Linked DNA regions of Homo sapiens: region 1 is linked to region 2. The links are contacts of gene promoters, found by promoter capture Hi-C in human tissues and cell types (Jung and others, 2019). All regions are on one chromosome and are shown on one strand. The core of a region is centred on a gene start or on the middle of the fragment in contact, and the rest is flanking DNA. Distances in the headings are between cores, read along the strand shown.

Region 1 (5,961 bases), core at 457-2,956, 670 kb after region 2:
TTGGTTTCAGGTTTATTAAGTTATTTCCATCAAAATATAACCTTTTTTCTACTGACATACTATTTTTCCTTTACTTCTAAGGTAATAATAATGTTCCTTATAAAAACAAATTGCTGTTTCTTTCTACAGCTGCATTTGACAAAGGTGATGATCGAAGACTTGGCAAAAAGCCTATATTCAGTAGCTCGCAGGTAAACTTTCTAAATTTTATAGGTACAAATGAAAAAGATAACAAATTATTTAAAGCTTATTATTTTATATTTCAGAAAAAGTTTTAAAAATCTATTCATTAATTGAAGCTATTTCTTAATGGAAAATTTTTCTTTTTCTAAATCAAGTGAACATTTAATAAATGTTTTAAAGTGAATTTTTTATATCCAGTTGGCACTGGAAGTATCTACCTTTTTCATTTCCTTGAAAACCTTTTTGGCAGCTAACGTATTAGAGCTATTTCAGTCTATTAGAAGTTGTTTAGAACTCTAGACCTAATTCAATGTCTGTTTTTCTAATTAGCCTACTTCTTAAAAAAGAAGATTTTAGGCTAGGCATGGTGGCTCACGCCTGTAATCCCAGCACTTTGGGAGGCCGAGGCGGATGGATCACCTGAGGTCAGGAGTTCGAGAGCAGCCAGGCCAACATGGTGAAACCCCATCTTTACTAAATACACAAAAATTAGCCAGGCATGGTGGTGCACACCTGTAATCCCAGCTACTCGGGAGGCTGAGGGAGGAGAATTGCTTGTACCCGGGAGGCAGAGGTTGCAGTGTGATGAGATTGCACCATTGCACTCCAGCCTGGGTGACAAGAGCGAAACTCCATCTCAAACAAAAAAAAAGATTTTAATTCACATAATGTATTTTTGGTGTTTTTGAAAAAAGCAATTAGTACTAAGAGTACAACTGTGTTTTACTTTAAAAGTTACTTGGTATACTTTTATGAGGTATCTAAAGTAGTTGAATTCTTAGAAGGTAGTATTGTGGTTGCTGAAAACTAGAGGGAGGGAGAAAGGGGGAGTTGTTCAATGAGTACAGAGTTTCCATTTTGCAAGATGAAAAGTTTTCTGTTGTGCAACGAAGTGCATGCAGCTAACATTACTACACTGTTACTGAAGTGTATTAAAGAGTACTTAAGTGTATTAAATGGTTAAGATGGTAGATTTCATGTTTTGTGTGTTGTTTGTTTGTTTTTGACCACCCACAAGGTTATTTGGTGTTTTTCTTATAACCTGAAATAAATTTGTCTTCCCAAAAATGTTATTAATTATGGTTAGGGTTCCTAGCTGACTTACAGATGTTCACTTAACCAATAATATATTCAAAGTACAAAATTATTCTAACCTCTGTGTGGTACAATGATAGACATACATTGAGAGTTCCAGTTTGGAATGCAATGAACGTATTGCCCTAGCAGAGTGGAATAGGAAATCCTTTTTTCTTCCTCATCAGCCAGTTGATAGGAACTAATGCAGCTCCAAGCCACAACTGAGAGTTGTCATGGCTTGAGGAAGAGGTCAAGCTCCAAATGTCTTGAGTGAGAAACTGGGAGACTGGAGTTTTTGCCAATTAACCTCTTAGGATTGTTTCCAAAGTGGGTTTCACAAGATACGAGCTCCATCTAGCATCAACTATAAGTTGGAGAGTAGCTACACACCATAGCTCCTCTTTTTATTTTTTGAGACGGAGTTTCGCTCTTGTTGCCCAGGCTGGAGTGCAATGGCATGATCTCGGCTCACCACAACCTCCGCCTCCCAGGTTCAAGCAGTTCTCCTCCCTCAGCCTCCCAAATAGCTGGGATTACAGGAATGTGCCACCATGCCTGCCTAATTTTGTATTTTTAGTAGAGATGGGGTTTCTCCATGTTGTTCAGGCTGGTCTCGAACTCCCGACCTCAGGTGATCTGCCCGCCTCGGCCTCCCAAAGTCCTGGGATTGCAGGCGTGAGCCACCACGCCCAACCCCATAGCAACTCTTTATAGACCGACGATGCATATTATACCTTGAAAGTGCTGAGAAACACTAAAGAATACTTTTGAATTGTTGCATCCAAAATTTTCCCCAATGTTATAGCTATGGAATACGACTAGGGTCCCGACAACCCTTTTAAAGCATATTATACGATTCCACAGAACATACTCTAGGAAATGGTGCACTAGGACATTTTTTTCTGTGTTCCCTGTTATCCCCGTGTTTTTTAAAGGCCCCCAGGAATTAGCCTACTTGCCTTCCTATCCCCTGCTACTCACCAGGCTTTTCTGCCTTCCTTGCCTTACTGCAGAATAGAACAAAGTTTCATTATTTTTCCTCATCCTCCTGACTTTGTGGTTGTCTAAGTCTTTTTTCTGTTAAGAACAATGGGAAGGAAGGAAGTTTCCCCCAGAAAGACAGTGATATGCTGAAATGGATGCTGGACACAAAATCAAAAGAGTTCAAATTTTGGCTTTGCATTTATTATGTGTCATCTGTGAGTCTTAGTTTGCTTATTTATAAAATGGAGTAATAAAACCTAGCAGGATTATTGTGAAAATTAGGTGAAATAATTTATGTGCAATTATCTGGTATGTAGTAAGTGCTCAATAAATGTGGAGCAAATAAATGTGTTTTCCAAACAGGGATGAGCTATCTAGGAGGTGGGAGAAAGTTAATCAGATAAGACAGGGAAAGAGGTTTTTTGTTTGTTTGTTTTGTTGTGGTGGTGGTTGTTGTTGCCTGCTTCATTTTTCCTTCATAGAGCGATTTAAGAAGAATGCTTAGTACCAAAATACTTAAGGATAAAATATATGATATCTGGGATTTGCTTCAAAATAAAATGGGGGTGGGTGTGTATGAAATAAAATTGGAATTAATAATGAATTAATAATTTTTAGAGCTGGCTATTAGGTACGTGAGGATTCATTATACTCTTCTGTCCTCTTATGATTATGTTTAATTTTTCCTATTTTTTGAGACAGGGTCTCACTCTGTCACCCAGGCTGGAGTGGAGTGACACAATCACAACTCACTGCAGCCCTGACCTTCTGGGCTCAAGGGATCCTTCCACCTCTGCTTCCTGAATAGCAGGCATAGGCCCAAGCTACCATGCCTGGCTAATGTTTGTATTTTTTTTTGTAGAGGCGGGGTTTTGCCATGTTGCCTAGGCTGGTCTCAAACTCCTGGGCTCAAGCAATCCGCACCTGGCCTATTGTGAAATTTTTCAAGGCATACAGCTATACCATATACTATATAGATTTCACCCATAGCGTAATACTTCAAGATGCATAAATTCAAGGATAGAATAAATTAAGTAGATTCAGTGTTAAGGGTGGGAAGGAGTTCTAAAAGCAGAAGTCAGCCTGGTTTTAGGTATTAAAAATAGAGAAATGTTTTTTTTTTGAGCTAAGATTTGAGCAAGAAAACAAAAAATGAGGACCAAGCCTATCTGAACGTTTTAAATGTTAGAATCCTAGAAGACTGCTGTGAATAGGACCAGTCTCTACGCTGTGGACAGGCATAAGCTGAGACCCAAAGCTGTTAATAATTTCTGAAATGTCCCAGGCTGGTTAGAAGCAAAACTAGGACAAGAATCTAGTGGTTGTTTTATCACCGTGCTTTCCTTTTTTCTAAATTTAACCAAGTTATTTATTGTGTATTTTTTTGTGTGCACCCACATTCATATATGTTATTTTATCTTTGACAGCTTTTAATGTAATTGGAAGCTTTTCATATTTAAAAATAGACCTTAAACTGCATATCAAAATATGCAATATATGCCCAGCATTAACAACATTGATTACGTTTTTTGTTTGTTTGTTTTTTGAGTATCCAATATGTGACATGGTGCCGAGGGATACAAAAGATGAAGAGAGCACAGGCTCTGCCTCAGACCTCTACAATCTCATACAGCTTCCAAAGGAAAAAAAAAACCGTTTGCATACTTACATAAAGAATGACAATAGGACGGGCGCGGTGGCTCACACCTGTAATCCCAGCACTTTAGGAGGCTGAGGTGGGTGGATCACGAGGTCAAGAGATCAAGACCATCCTGGCCAACATGGTGAAACCCCGTCTCTACTAAAAATACAAAAATTAGCTGGGCATGGTGGCGCATGCCTGTAGTCCCAGCTACTCGGGAGGCTGAGGCAGGGGAATTGCTTGAACCTGGGAGGCGGAGGTTGCAGTGAGCTGAAATCGTGCCACTGTACTCCAGCCTGGCAACAGAGCAAGACTCCATCTCAAAAAAAAAAAAAAAAAAAAAAGAATGACAATATTGGCCGGGCACAGTGGCTCATGCCTGTGATCCTAGCACTTTGGGAGGCCGAGGCGGGTGGATTGCCTGAGCTCAGGAGTTCAAGATCAGCCTGGGCAACACGGTGAAACCCTCTCTCTACTAAAATACAAAAAAATTAGCCAAGTGTGGTGGCATGTGCCTATAGTCCCAGCTACTCAGGAGGCTGAGGCAGGAGATTGCTTGAACCCAGGAGGCAGAAGTTGCAGTGAGCCAAGACTGGGCCACTGCACTCCAGCCTGGGTGACAGAGCAAGACTCTGTCTCAAAAAAGAAAGAAAAAAGAAAGAAAAAAAAGAATGACAATATGATCTTAAAATATTATCCTAGAATTTCTACCAACTTAAAAATTTTCTTTGTTCCCTTTCATATCAAGGTTGGTTCTAAGGAAAATGATGAAGTAGGTATGTTTATCTTCAGTGCCATTTTATTTGTCCCTTTTTAGCCTATTTCAGCTATTTTTAGGATCCCTTTTCCTTCGCTTCCTATAGCCAGCCAGTGCTATACTAGTATCTTATTTGTCCAAAAACCAAGCTTTGCAGATGTAGTGTATTGATGTGCTGTGCTTCCTAGGAGCTTTTAAAAAAAAATTTTTTTAAATAAGGACTCCAAGAAGTAAAGGATTCTTCCCACAGAGGATTAAGTCTTTAATGATAAAATTTCTGGCACTTGGAATAAGGTTGAAGAGAGAATTTTTATTGAAAATCTTTATAATGTCCCTCAAATTATGCTATATAGATGACTTCGGTGTGAGGTTAAAAAATGAGCTCAAGTCCTGATTCCATCCCTCATCAGCCTGAGACCTGGGGTAAATCACATACCTACTTTAATCCTCAATTTCTTGTCTAAGAAATAGAAACAGCCACAGGAGCTAGTTCATGGGACTGTTGTGAGGATTAAGTGGGATGATGTATACAAAAGATGTAGTATAAAACATGGGAGTAAGCCTTCTAAAAAATCATGGATATTATCATTCCTCAGGGCATCCTGAATCTTTATAGACATTAATCTCTATCAAAACTTCATACATTAAAAAAGCCTTCCTTTTATTTATTTATTTACTTTAATAGATAGAATAGCATGCCTTTAAAATAAACACTTATGCTGTATTTCAGATTTGATTACGGTAATCTAAGACAAAGTTTTGATCCAAATGATCAAAGACAGTTCAAGCTTTGACCTTAAATCATAATATGAACTTTTCTATTTTTTTTCTTTGAAAGACTGGCTTTTGGAAACATAAAATATTATATGTTAAAGATTTCAGTCAAATTACAAAGTATTTTTTTTCTTTTTTATAGCAAAGGAAACAAGTTTCTGACTCTGGTGATATAAAAATCAAATCTTGGAGGGGAAATAACAAGAAAGAGTGTTGGAGTTATCTCTCTACTAATAAAAAGATGAAATCTGATGGATTAGGAGCATCTGGACATTCGTCAAGTACCAATAGAAATAGTATAAATAAAACTCTGAAGCAAGATGATGTAAAGGAAAAAGATGGTACAAAAATAGCATCTAAGATTACAAAAGAACTAAAAACTGGGGGAAAAAATGTTTCTGGAAAGCCCAAAACTGTAACAAAATCCAAAACAGAAAATGGTGATAAGGCACGGTTGGAAAACATGTCACCTAGACAAGTTGTAGAAAGATCAGCAACAGCAGCAGCAGCAGCAACTGGACAGAAGAATTTACTAAATGGAAAA
Region 2 (5,895 bases), core at 1,132-3,631:
ACCCCCCAATAAAGACAAGAAACCAAACTAAGAAACAAACCAAACCTCAAGAGTTGTCTCCATTTGTAGATCTTTTGTTCGTCAATAAATTCAATATAGTCTTTCTGTCTCACTCCAAAGCTGCTCTTTCTGAAGGCTCTAATGACTATCTCTGATCAATTCTGTATCCTCACTACTTCTGTGAAGCATTTGCTATAGCTGACCACTTTCTTCTAATTGTAAAACTTTCTGCTCTTGACTTCTATGACATCACCTTCTTACCTCACAGACTACTACTTCTCAGTCTCTTGCTGGTTCTTCCTCCTCCTCTGCTCAACTATGAAATGTTGGAAGTTATCATAGCCCAACTCTCCATCTACAATCTTTGCTTAGATAATATCGTATAGTCCAAGACTAGGTTTCATCTATAAATTCATAACTGCCAAGTTTATTTCTTCACCCTGAACTATACCCCAGACCAATATATTCATCTGTTTCTTTGACATCATCACTTGCATATCTTGGACTTGATTATTGTTAACGACCTCCCGATAATGACCACCAGGAACACAACTATAGCTGAGCAACTTGGATGTATTGCTTGTTTCAGTACGTGAGAATGCACACCATGGGGAACCATGGGATGTCTTAGGAAGAGGGTGTTAAAAAGGACTTGTTATAGAATTTGAGTTTGTGTTAGGAGATTTACGGAAGGGTGCAAGAAAGAGGGACTTTGGCCTGGATTGGAAGCTGTAAGGAAGCAAGGATAATTCTATAATTGGGTATTTTAATAAGTATTATGTAGAAGGAAGGAAGACTAGACTGAGGTTAAAACTATAATTGGTAAAGAAGCAGCAGGCACTCATATTAGCTAGGATAAGGAGATATTTGATCATTTTTATGGCTTGGGCAATGTTGATGTTGTGTCTGTGTTCACATATGATTATAGAGTGATCTTACTTTTGTCTTGATCTATCACGGTCACAACTCTGTCTTGTCTGATGTTCTGTGAAATTGTTTATGTTCAACAGAAGAATACCAATGCTTGGCTGTGATTGCCAGGCCAGCTCAAAGCAACAGCAAACCAAGCTGGTAGTACCAGGCCATCTCCTGGATGTCAAGGTCTGCTTTTCTCTTTCTCGGTATCCACACTAGAATCCTTGATTTACTCTCTTCCACCTCACTCAATCAAAAACCATTACCTCACAGACTTCCCTTCTATGTGGCACTACCACCCACACATATGCTAGCCCAAAACCTAAGATTCACTGTTGATGATGCCCTTTTCTTCATTTTCCATAGCCAATCACCAAATCCCATTGTCTTCTTTCTTTTATTTCTTCCGCCATTGTTCTGGTCCAAACTACCATTATGTTTCTCCTAAACATAAAGTGCATCCTATTTCCTCTGCTTCCACACTTGCCCCTCTACAATCCATTCTCTTCATAACAGATAGATCATATTACTCCCTTGCTTTAAAACTTTCAAATAGCTTCCAATTGTACTCAGAACAAACACTAAACTTCTTACCCTGGCTTTCAAGGACCCTGGTCTGGCTTCTGCCTAACTCTCCACCTTCATCTATCTGGGACTATCTTGCGGCTCACTCACTATGCTTCCCCCACACTGGCCTTTCCTGCCCTGCCCCTGCAACATACCAAGTTCCTCTTTCTCTCTGCATTTGCCCTATCCTTTCTTTGCCAGGACAACAGTCTCCCTACCAGCTCTTTCTCATCCAGGTCTCTTTGAGAGGGCTTCCCTGACCATCTAGATGCCACCTTCCTGGTCAGTATTTCCCTCAAGTAGTAATCAATGCCGGAAAGAATACTGTTCATTTATTCATCCGTTATTGTCATCGCTTCATTGGAATTTAGCTTCCTACAGGGATGGTGTTTATCTTGCTCACTATGATTCCAGCCCCTAGAAAAACCCACCTACCTCATAGCCAAGGGCTCAGTAAATAGTATACACTGCCTTCCTGCCACTGTGCTAATTTCTACTAACACAGCCACAAACAATCAGCAATTACATTTTCTGCTTGTTTTTAACGGGGAAGTAGGGCACTCAACGAAAAGGAAATAAAAGCAGAGTCAAGAAAGTGCCTTTTATCCATGGAGTGCCCAATGTGTTGTGCGGCCGGCCACGTATATAGGGATGTGTCAGCACCTGAGATTTTTCCTTCTCTGAGCTAGCTTCTTTCCTGGAAATCATGCTGGGCCCTTAGCCTTATGGTTCACCCTGTTTTTTAAGATCATCCACGGGCTTCATTCCCGTAACCGCTCTTCTAGCTGGCCAAGGCGGCGGGAAGAAACCCCACCCTCTTGCGCAAACGCCCAGTAGCGGAATCCGCGGGGTCGAGGGCTTTAGTGTGCGCATGTGCAACCAGAGCGGCGGCGGGAAGTGTTGCGCAGGCGCATCCGATCGACTCGGTAGGTGGGGATCTCTTGGAGACGGCGACCCAGGCATCTGGGGAGCCACAGAAGTCGTACTCCCTTAAACCGTGAGTTTCCGACGGTTTGTTCCATGGCGCGGGATTGTGAGGGATTAGGAACGAATTCTGGATCGTGACTTCGGTTTTCTCGCCGTGCAGTTCCTTTTCCCGCCCCCCTTCGGATCCCTCCGACCTGCGGCGGGAAAGTCGCGCGCCTGCGCACTAAGCATCTGGTTCGGTCTCTGGCCCGAGGGAAGCCGGTCCTTCCCGGCTGAGCTCGCGGCCAGCGCTGGCCGGCGGATTCCCATTCATTCACCCTTCTCCTCCTCCGCCCAGTACTCGTGGCCAGGGTCGTATCAGTTCTCCGTCAACTTGCTTGGGGCCTTGGACGAGCCTCCTGGCGCTTCCTGTCAGTGGCGAAAAGGTTTTCTCCCTCAGTTCTTTTCCTGACTTCAAACCGCCCCCGGCGCTCGGCCCCTCCCCCACGCGGTCCCGCTGGCTGTGCCGGACTGGCAGCCTCGCCGTTTCCCACTGCGCCTGCTGCTGCGCGGGTGCCCAAGCCGGGAAATTCTCCCTGCAGCCCCCTGCCGGTGTTTCTGATAGGTGAAAATAAAGCACATGGAATTCCTTAGACAAGGCCACAGTATGCCCTACTGTGGAGGTTTGGACACATCGTGCGTTTGAAAATGTTTGCCCCTTTGGGGGGCAGTAGCATGTTTTTAGTGCGTGGTTTAGCGAGTGATCTAAATTTCTCTAGTGTTCTAATTTTCACAGCTGCTTTGCTCCCCCTGTGGATGTAACCCCTTAGCTGGCATTTTGCATCTCAATTGGCTTGTGATGGAGGCGTCTTTGGGGATTCAGATGGATGAGCCAATGGCTTTTTCTCCCCAGCGTGACCGGTTTCAGGCTGAAGGCTCTTTAAAAAAAAACGAGCAGAATTTTAAACTTGCAGGTACGTGTTTAAATCCAAAGATGTACAGTTATAAAGATTTTTCAGGCAACAATTCTGTGTTTTCAATTCCTCTCAAAAAATAAGATTGAATCTTATAAAGTGAATTGTATGTTTCTATAGGACAGTGTTAAAACAGAGCTTCGTATGATCTAAATGTAGGACTGAATTGCGATTTGGAAGACTGTAATACAACCTGTTTTACGGTTGAAGTTGCTATGGTCTCAGTATTGGTAATTAAGAATGCAGAAATTTGATGATGCCCAAATTAAATTTCTCTTTTGTATCTGTGTTCTTATCTCTACTCACCACATTGCCTTAAGCTTAAATGTAGAAATTGACACTGGAGATCATCACTTAAGTATTCAAAAGCAGAACTCACAGACAAAAAAATATGAAATGTTTGTAGCAATAATAAAGCACCATATCTCAGTGTACAGCATGAAATGTTCTTTGACCGTAAACCAGACCTTAGGGTGAATAAGACAGGGTCAAGCAGTGCCTGCTCTTGTACACTCGCATGTGTACCTTCATTTCTGCTCTGGCACAGGACCTGGGACATAGTAGGTATTTGTTAATAATAAATATTTGTTAAATAGAGGAATTCTAGTTGACTGTATTTTTTTTTTTCTGAAAGGGTAGCCAGATCATCTTTCCCATCTTTGTCTTAAGTGAATTCTGTGCTTGTCTAAAAGATACTTATTTTGACCTTTTGTCCATATATTCTTTATAACCCCACCCTAGAAAAATATGACATCACATACTTTCTGCTTTGATGGAAGTCAGTTATCCCACTTACCTAAACTTGAAACTTTAATCTTCAGCTGATGCTTTTTATTTGTTCCCCATATCGTCACCTAGCTTTATTTCTTTTTAGTAAGTATGGCATTGTGTCTTCTTTCCATTCCCATTTCCACCACATTAATTAATTTCCTTACACTTTGTTCCTGATTTACAACAGTTTCTCACCTATGCTGCCTGCTTGCACTTTTCCATTCTTCAGTTCATCTTGTATGTTGGTGCTAGAATAATCTTAAAATGCCACTTTCATCCAGTTTCATGGATACTGTTCCTCTTCCTTTCCATTTTTCCAGCAGTTAGCTGTTTTTTTAGTTCATCTTTCCCTTACTAGTCACTGGACACATAACACAGTAACACAGTCATTGTAGTATTCTTTTTCTATTGCTTAGGACTCTGCATTTTGTCTCCACTGTAAACCCCTTGGCGGCAGTATCTCCTCTGGTTTCTAAAGTATGTTGTGACTTCAGCAGAGTATCTGAATGGATGACTCTGAATTGGTTCTAGCATCATGTTTAGGAGAATGCCACTATTCTAATATTCTGAAAATCTGCTGGGAAGTAATGAATGGGGTGAATTTTATTACGGATTTCAAAAGTTTTGTAGCGTTTATGTAACAGAACATTGGACATTATAATATGATAAATTATAAAACGTGCTAAAACTTTACTCTTATGGTTCTTTTTTAAATATGATCTTAATAACAGCTAAAGTTATATAAACATAACTTCAATAGGGAGCAAAGCTGATGAGGTCCAGGCACATAACAGTCTAGTAATCTAATTGGGAAAGTAAATCAAATTAGATCATGAGACAGGTATATGCCTGCACCTCATCAACTTTACTCCTTATTGAAGTTATATTTTTGATTGGATGTTTTATATATCTTAGCATTCCCAGAGCTTAACAGTGTCCAGCACATAGTAGGTGCTTGAAAATATTTGAATGAATGATTTAATGTAAGGATATAAAGTAAAATACTTAGTGTAATGGATGAATAGCATGTCTCTTTATTTTGAGATATTTGTCAGATTTTTATAACATTTTTCTGATAAACATGATTATTGAAATTTTTGAAGTAAAGAAAGCCAAAATAAAGTCTTTTCCCATTATTGAAATATTGCCACTGTTGACATTTTGTTATATTCCTTTAGCCTTTCTAGGCATACATAGGTACATTTTTTAGAAACTAAATTGGGATCTTGTTTTGTTTTTGTTTTTGAAAAGAGAACCAGAATATGGGATCTTATTTCTGATCTCCATTTTTTTTAATATATATCTTGAATATTGCTCATGTAGTAAATATTCTACAACTGGATTTAAGGTCCATTGCATATTATATTATAATATATTCAATCACCTTTTACTATTGACCCTATAGATTGTTTCTATTTTTTCCTATTAAGAAAAATGCTGTAATGCACAAACTATCTGGCATAATATTGGTCAAATGTTTATTCTTTCACTGTTTTGGCAAGCTTTTTTTTTTTTTTTTGAGACATGGTCTCTCTGTCACACCACTGTCACTGGAGTGCAGTGGTGCAATTACAGCTCACTGCAGCCTTAACTCCTGCACTCAAGCAATCCTACCCCCTCAGCCTCCTGAGTAGCTTGGATTACAGGCATGTGCCGCTACACTCAGCTAATTTTAAATATTTTTTTTAGAAACAGGATCTTGCTATGTTGCCCAGGCTGGTCTCAAACTCCTGGCCTCAAGTGATCCCCTCCTATCTTGGCC

Evidence for each region. Contacts are between HindIII fragments. The study calls those that stand out against the background at their distance.
Region 1: a fragment that was not itself captured here is called in contact with the fragment with the promoter of CDC7 in region 2 in 1 of the 25 tissues and cell types used here (dorsolateral prefrontal cortex).

Annotation. Positions count from the first base shown.
Region 1 is chr1:92,171,270-92,177,230 of GRCh38, forward strand. It overlaps BTBD8 (BTB domain containing 8), which reads left to right. Exons shown (of 18, transcript NM_001376131.1): 13 at 130-191; 14 at 5,560-5,961. Among named protein-coding and RNA genes, the nearest start is that of C1orf146, 44 kb to the right of the region's middle. The HindIII fragment of the contact is 5,069 bases long and covers 1-4,241 here.
Region 2 is chr1:91,498,470-91,504,364 of GRCh38, forward strand. CDC7 (cell division cycle 7) reads left to right here and starts at 2,382. Exons shown (of 12, transcript NM_003503.4): 1 at 2,382-2,479; 2 at 3,185-3,362. The coding sequence starts at 3,248. It overlaps LOC105378856 (a long non-coding RNA gene), which reads right to left and starts at 2,379. Exons shown (of 3, transcript XR_947599.4): 1 at 46-2,379. RefSeq lists an enhancer at 3,024-3,223. The HindIII fragment of the contact is 7,471 bases long and covers 1-4,658 here.